Linked DNA regions of Homo sapiens: region 2 is linked to region 1. The links are contacts of gene promoters, found by promoter capture Hi-C in blood cells and fetal thymus (Javierre and others, 2016). All regions are on one chromosome and are shown on one strand. Each heading gives the region's core, a stretch centred on a gene start or on the middle of the fragment in contact. The rest is flanking DNA. Distances are from core to core; before and after follow the strand shown.

Region 1 (3,467 bases), core at 286-2,785:
TGTCTCCTGGGTTCAAGTGATTCTCATGCCTCAGCCTTCTGAGTACCTGGGACTACAGGCACGCACGACCACACCTGGCTAACAGTTTGTATTTTTAGTAGAGACAGGGTTTCACCATGTTGCCCAGGCTGGTCTTCAACTCCTGAGCTCAGGCAAATCCGCCTGCCGGAACCAGGAATGTTTACAGTAGCACTATTCAAACAACCCAATGTCCATCAACAGATAAATGGATTAACAAATTTAGGGTGTGCACATTCAATGGAATATTATTAAATCATTAAAAATGAATAAAGTACTGATATGTGCTACAATGCCTTGAAGACATTATGCTAAGTAAAAGAAACCAGACACAAAAGACCACAATGCATGATTCAATTTATATGAAATTCCCAGAACAGATAAGTACAGAAACAATAGCAGACAGGGGTTGGAGGAAGGAGCATATGAGGAGTAAGTGCTTTATGAACAGTGTTTTATTTGGGGGTGATGAAAATAACAACTAGATATATGTTGTCTACAAGAGACTCACTTTACTTGGAGCCTAGAGGGTTGCAAGAATTCTGAACTTGGTCTTGGGTTCTCACTTCAAATAGCTCCTATTCATATTTCAAGTGCCCGTAGTCTCAACTACTTGGAGGCTGAGGCAGAAGGATGGCTTGAGCCCAGAAGTTCAAGGCCAACCTGAGCAACACAGTGAGACCCTGTCTCTAAAAAAGTAAACTTTAAAAAAACACCCACAATCCTGTGCCAGAAATAACTTCCAAGCAGCATGCACATACACTAATTCATTCATTTCATCAACAAATCCTTCATTCCTCCTCTCTGTACACAGACCCCATGCACTCCCCAATCTAACATCACAGACTCCGGAAATTCTGGAGTTTCTGCACAAGCTCTTAGAGAACACATTCTCTCCTATGTGAAACATCTATCTGTAACCCCATCCCATTATCCGTCCCAGACTCGTCATCCAGACATCTCAAGCTCCCTATCACACCATGCTCTGGTTTCATTCAAGACGGCATTCTGAGGCCCTCTGTAAATTCGCCCACCCCATCCCATATTCCTGCATTCATTTCCATTCATTCAAAAACAGCCCTTACTCTACGCTGGCCTGTGCAAGGCAAGGCGGAACAGGACTCCAACGTTCCTACCCGCGCTGCGCAGGCTCGCCTGCACTTCCACCCATGCCCCGCGCCCCTTTCGCTCCACAAGCTCCCAGGAACCGTCTGCTCCACCGACACCCAGAGCCTCGAGGCGCAGACTGTCTGACTCTCCATCCTGCCCGCCGGAGGAGGATGGCACCTCCGGGAGTGCAGGGGGCGCTGAGGCAGGAGTGGAGGAAACGCCACCTCTTGCCCGCGGCGCTGGAGCCTCCACGGTTGTCCGGCTCCCACAGCGGAAGGCCTGCCACGCACCCATCCTCCGAAGACCAGCGAACCCACCTTTACGCTCAGCTTCGCTGTCGGCGTCGCTCCCGAAGAGATCCTCCATATCCGCCATTATCGCTCACGTCCGCTGCTGCCTCGGTTAGGGGCAGCTCCCGGCCTCTCTTTACGGCACGGAACCACTGAAACACGACAGTGTCGCAAAGATTCGCCGAAGACACTCCTTTCCTTACGTGACCTAGTTTTCGCTCGCCCAGTGAACCTGTTCTCGCCTGGGTATGCATGGTATATAAGCCCGGCCATTTCGTCAATATCTGTTATTTGCCAGGATTCTTACCAGGGGGCGGGGGGGTCCTGCGTTCGGTTGCGGGTGTGGATGGGGTGGGCGGTGACTGGCGCTCTCTGGGGAAGGGCCTCTGGCTGGATTAAACCTATCGCGAGTCAGGATTGAAGCCCTTTGTTTCTTACTGAGCAGCTGTTCTCCAGTTATTTCATCCCAAACCCCTTTACCCTCTTAAAAATTGTTGAGACGGAGTCTCGCTCAGTCGCCCAGGCTGGAGTGCAGTGGCGCGATCTCGGCTCACAGCAACCTCCACTGTCCGGGTTCAAGCAATTCTAATTCCTCAGCCTCCCGAGTAGCTGGGACGACAGGCGCCCGCCACCACACCCGGCTAATTTTTTGTATTTTAGTAGACACGGGGTTTCACCGTGTTGCCCAGGCTGGTCGCAAACTCAGGAGCTCAGGCAATCCGCCCGCCTCGGCCTCCCAAAGTGCTGGGATTACAGGTACGGGTATTGATATTTACTGTATTCTTACTAATACGGTAATAAATTTTTAAGTTACTAATTCATTTAAAAATAATATACATGTTAACAAACAGCTTTTTTAAGCTTTAAATGACCATTTTTTTGGCCGGGCGCGGTCGCTCACGCCTGTAATCCCAGCACTTTGGGAGGCCGAGGCGGGTGGATCACGAGGTCAGGAGATCGAGACCATCCTGGCTAACACGGTGAAACCCCGTCTCTACTAAAATAAAAAAAATTAGCCGGGCGTGGTTGTGGGCGCCTGTCGTCCCAGCTACTAGGGAGGATGAGGCAGGAGAATGGCGTGAACCCAGGAGGCGGAGCTTGCAGTGAGCCGAGATCGCGCCACTGCACTCCAGCCTGGGCACGAGACTCCATCTCAAAAAAATAATAATAATAAAATAAAATAATTAAAAATAAAAACATTAGCCAGGCATGATGGCATGCATTTGTAGCCCTAGCTACTCAGGAAACTGAGAATGGAGGATCACTTGAGCCCAGGAGTTGGAGGCTGCAGTGAGCTATGATCACGCCACTTCACTCTAGCCTGAGTGACAGAGTAAGGCTCTGTTTCTTAGAAGAAAAAGTGAGAAAAGAGTACATCCTGTGTTACATTACCTAATTAGGCCATTATGAGAGTTTTGGTCTTGGACAAGCAACAATGAATATTTAGTTTGGAGATTATATGATATATATTTTTGTAGTAAACTTCAGTGCTTAACAGGGTCCAAATGGGTGGGACTGGGTATGTAATCATCAATCCTAGAGCTTTTGTGTATGAAGCGGATGTTGCAAGAGAAGATACATAGATAACCTGAAAACTATCTGGAATACTGGAAAAACAAGTATTCCATTTGACAGTGATTCAGTTTCATTTTCATTTAGAGTACTGTCCCTGAAAAGTACTTTGATTAAATTTATTTTCTTTTGATACAGTGTCTCTGTTGCCTAGGCTGGAGCGCAGTGGCGCCATCATAGCTCACTGCAGCCTCAAACTCCTGGCCTCAAGAGGTCCTCCTGCCTCGGCCTCCTAACACGTTGGGATTACAAGTATGGGCCACAGTGCCTGGCTAAATCTTAATAAATTGAATTACAGTTTGGTCTGGTGAGTCACCATGTCCATATTCCTGGCTATCAGAATAAACGTGTTTTTCCCATATGAATAGTATAAAACAAATCACTTCTGACTCTTGGACAGATTTTTTTGTTTATGTTTTGGCTACACTTTTTTTTTTTAAACAGAGTTTCGCTCTTGTTGCCCAGGCTGGAGTACAA
Region 2 (3,467 bases), core at 529-3,028, 630 kb after region 1:
CCAGCCTGACCAGCATGGTGAAACTCGTCTCTACTGAAAATACAAAAATTAGCTGGGCATGGTGGCGCGCTCCTGTAATCCCAGTTACTTGGGAGGCTGAGGCAGGAGAACTGCTTGAACCCAGGAGGCGGAGGTTGCAGTGAGCCAAGGTTGCACCATTGCACTCAGACCTGGGGAACAGAGTGAGACTCTGTCTCAAAACAAACAAACAAACAAACAAACAAAAATATATATGTAGATATATATAGATACTTACATATACACACTCATTAACAATAGCTGATGAGCTTAAAAAAATCACAAAAAAAATCTAACAACATTTTAAGAAAGTTTACGAATTTGTGTTGGGCTGCATTCAAAGCTGTCCTGGGCCGCAGGCTGGACAAGCTTGCTCTAAATGGTGGCAAGAAAAGGTGACTATTAGCTATTAGACTATTTGGGTGTTATTCTGTGTCCATGTGTTTCCAGACTCCACCTAATGCCCCACAAATAATGTCTAAGGATCATGATTTCCCCCAACAACATTACAGGGATAAGACTTTGCCCTGTTTTCATTAAACAAGTCTAATGTGTCATTTTAGTGACTCAAGTCTAACCCCATCTTTTATTGCACAGAATGTCAAATTCACTAAGCAGAGGAAATATCTTCTGTAATTTACTGAAGAAAACATCAAATTCATTATAAATAAGACCTATGGGTTGGATAGTCTCAGAACATCTCTATTTCTTAAGTCACTTGGAAAATGTATGTATATCTGCACAAATAGAATCGTCTGAAAAAAACTGTGTACTGATCTTTAACTATCTTCCCTGACATGGTTTGCATATTGTCCCCTTCAAATCTCATGTTGAAATGTAATCCCCAAAATTGAAGGTGGGGCCTGGTAGGAGGTATTTCGGTCATGGAGGTGGATCTTTCACAAATAGCTTGGTTCTGTCCTTGCAACAGTAGGTTCTTACGAGATCCGGTTGTTTAAAAGCATATGGCACCTCCCTCCTTGCTCTCTTGTTCCTGCTCTCACCATATGATGTGCCTGCTCCCACTTTGCCTACCACTATAAGTAAAAGCTCCCTGAGGCCTCATCAGAAGCAGATGCCAGCACCATGCTTCATGTAAAGCCTGCAGAACTGTGAGCCAATTAAACCTCTTTTCTTTATAAATTATCCAGCCTCTGGCCTTTCTTTATAGCAATGCAAAAACAGTCTAATACATTCCCTTTTCCAAAGTTTTGACATATCAGACTGCTCTCTTTTTCACTTATACATTTTTTGTAGTACATGTCTCAAAAGGAGCAAGAAAAATAATTTCTTGTAGTACAAAGGTTGCTGAGCCACCCGACCCTAACAATGGCCTATGCAATTTTAATTTGATGACAAAGAGGAATAGAGAGCTTGACATCTCTGAACTGATACCTTGGAATTGACATGGAAAAGACTTACCATGAAATATCTTTTCATTTCCACTAAGACTGTGAAAGATAGCTTCACTATTAAAATAGTTATAAAGCAAATGGTTAATATATCAAAACACAACTCCTGTAAAACTATTTATCTTAAAAATATAAAATTTTAATTATTTTCTCCTAAAAAACTCACCAGTTAAAATCACTTTAAAAATGTCATTTACAAGTTCGTGTTTAAGGTTAAGCTGATTTCTAATTACAGACAATTGAAACCCATGATTTCTACTTGACCCCAAGTAGAAATATTGTGAGTAAACATATCAGAAATCTTTATTTGAATTTTTAAAAAATAACCTTGTTACTTTAGAATAGCTGCAGATTTACAAAAAAGTTGCAAATAAAGTACAGAAAACCTTTTGGTTTTGCAAATCAACTTCCCTGATTATGAGGGGGCTGCTATTAGCCCACCACTATTTTCTCTGGGTCCTAGACCCAATTTTACCAAGTAAGAAGATGTGGTCAAATCTATGCTCCCGGCTTAAGTAACAGATTCCTCAATCCAACCTGATTTCATCAGGTCTTCTCTTCTCCACTACCAGCTATCCAATTCTAAGACATCACTGCCAACAATTCTGATTTCCCTTCTTGTGAAAATAAAATAAAAAGGTAATTTCAAGGCTTGAAAAAAGACAATTATTTCTTTCCTTTTCACAACCAAAGTTAAAGACATATAAAATGACACCCTAGAACCTAGGGTATAAAATTTTCATTTAAAGAACAGTTTCAAAGCACATTACCTCAAAATTTCCTAGGAGACTAAGACTTGTTATAGGTGGAGCACTAGAACTCAAAAATGGTTTTTCATGAATATCTGGATCATCTTCAATGTTTAAACATGGTCGAGGACTATTAGAAAAACAAATCAGCAAAAGAACACATTAGCCACAATACTTTTTTTTTTAATCTTGAGACAGGGTCTCACTCTGTCACCCAGGCGGGAGTACAGTGGCACCATCATAGCTCATACAGCTCAAACTCCTGGCTTCAGGCAATCCTCCTGCCTCAGCCTCCCAAAGTGCTGGAGACTACAGGTGTGAGTCACCAAGCCAAGGCACAATATTATTTACTTTTGTACAAAATTAAGAAAATCTGAACTCTACTCAAACTACCATAATAAATTAATGTTATCAAATTTTAAAATATAAAATTTCAAGTTTTAAATTCCCAGATTTTATCTTTCTTTATATTTTATATTTTATAAACACACATACACACATCCTAAAAGGTTTCGAGGTGGAATTTAGAACATATCACATAGTGGCATCTACTGGAAATAAATAATAATGCAGACTTCTATATCAATCTTATTTTCAGTTAAGAATGAGAATACAAGGGCAAAATTGTGTGACTAAAGATTATAATCAGAGTATTATTTGCCAACACGGAAAAAAATGGCCAAGGTTGTTTTTTTTTTTTCCGTCAAAGAGTAAAAGGTAGTAGAGGTTAATAACTAGAAATATATAAAACCACTTAAAACCAATGTAAGAGTTTATTATGATGACCACTATATAGTTGCTACTCATTGCCTTAATTTCTTCCACACTCATCCTTAATAACTGCGTGTGTACATGGTATCATACTCTAAATAAGATTCCTGTTACAATTCTGATGTTTAGAATCAACATTATTTATTGTTAAAGACCAGAATTTTGTGAAATTCTGTTTGAAACACACAAATGAATTTTGAGATAAATACCTTCTAGATGAGAAGCTTTTCAGATGTAGTAATGAAGAATCCAGATCAAAGCAACCTGATTGTGTTTTTCTTTGAGGAACCTAAGGTCAAAACGATCATTTGTGATATTAAAAAAAAAACTGTTAATTTTTTTCTTGAATTGATAAAACACTTTTTAAATGAAATTTAAGCATATCTTTGAAATATTACAACTTCTCCTATAATAGCTTATTTAAAATCATGCTGTTCATTACATATTGTTCTTATGTTATTTTATTAGTGTTGAAAAAACAGATGACAAATAAAAGCACTTTTACTAGGTTTTGATT

What was found. The method cuts DNA at HindIII sites, captures the fragments that hold promoters and counts their contacts. A CHiCAGO score of 5 or more calls a contact.
Region 2: a contact is called between a fragment that was not itself captured here and the fragment with the promoter of LEO1 in region 1, in 1 of 17 cell types (non-activated CD4 T cells). The highest score is 5.3, in non-activated CD4 T cells.

What each region holds. Positions count from the first base shown.
Region 1 is chr15:51,970,243-51,973,709 of GRCh38, forward strand. It overlaps LEO1 (LEO1 component of Paf1/RNA polymerase II complex), which reads right to left and starts at 1,536. Exons shown (of 12, transcript NM_138792.4): 1 at 1,446-1,536. The coding sequence starts at 1,503. It also overlaps a transcript of MAPK6 not described here. RefSeq lists enhancers at 653-1,229, 1,053-1,582, 1,230-1,805. The HindIII fragment of the contact is 6,227 bases long and covers 1-2,277 here.
Region 2 is chr15:52,597,927-52,601,393 of GRCh38, forward strand. ATOSA (atos homolog A) reads right to left here. Exons shown (of 13, transcript NM_001385016.1): 8 at 3,160-3,239; 9 at 2,201-2,309. Among named protein-coding and RNA genes, the nearest start is that of ARPP19, 31 kb to the left of the region's middle. The HindIII fragment of the contact is 2,787 bases long and covers 386-3,172 here.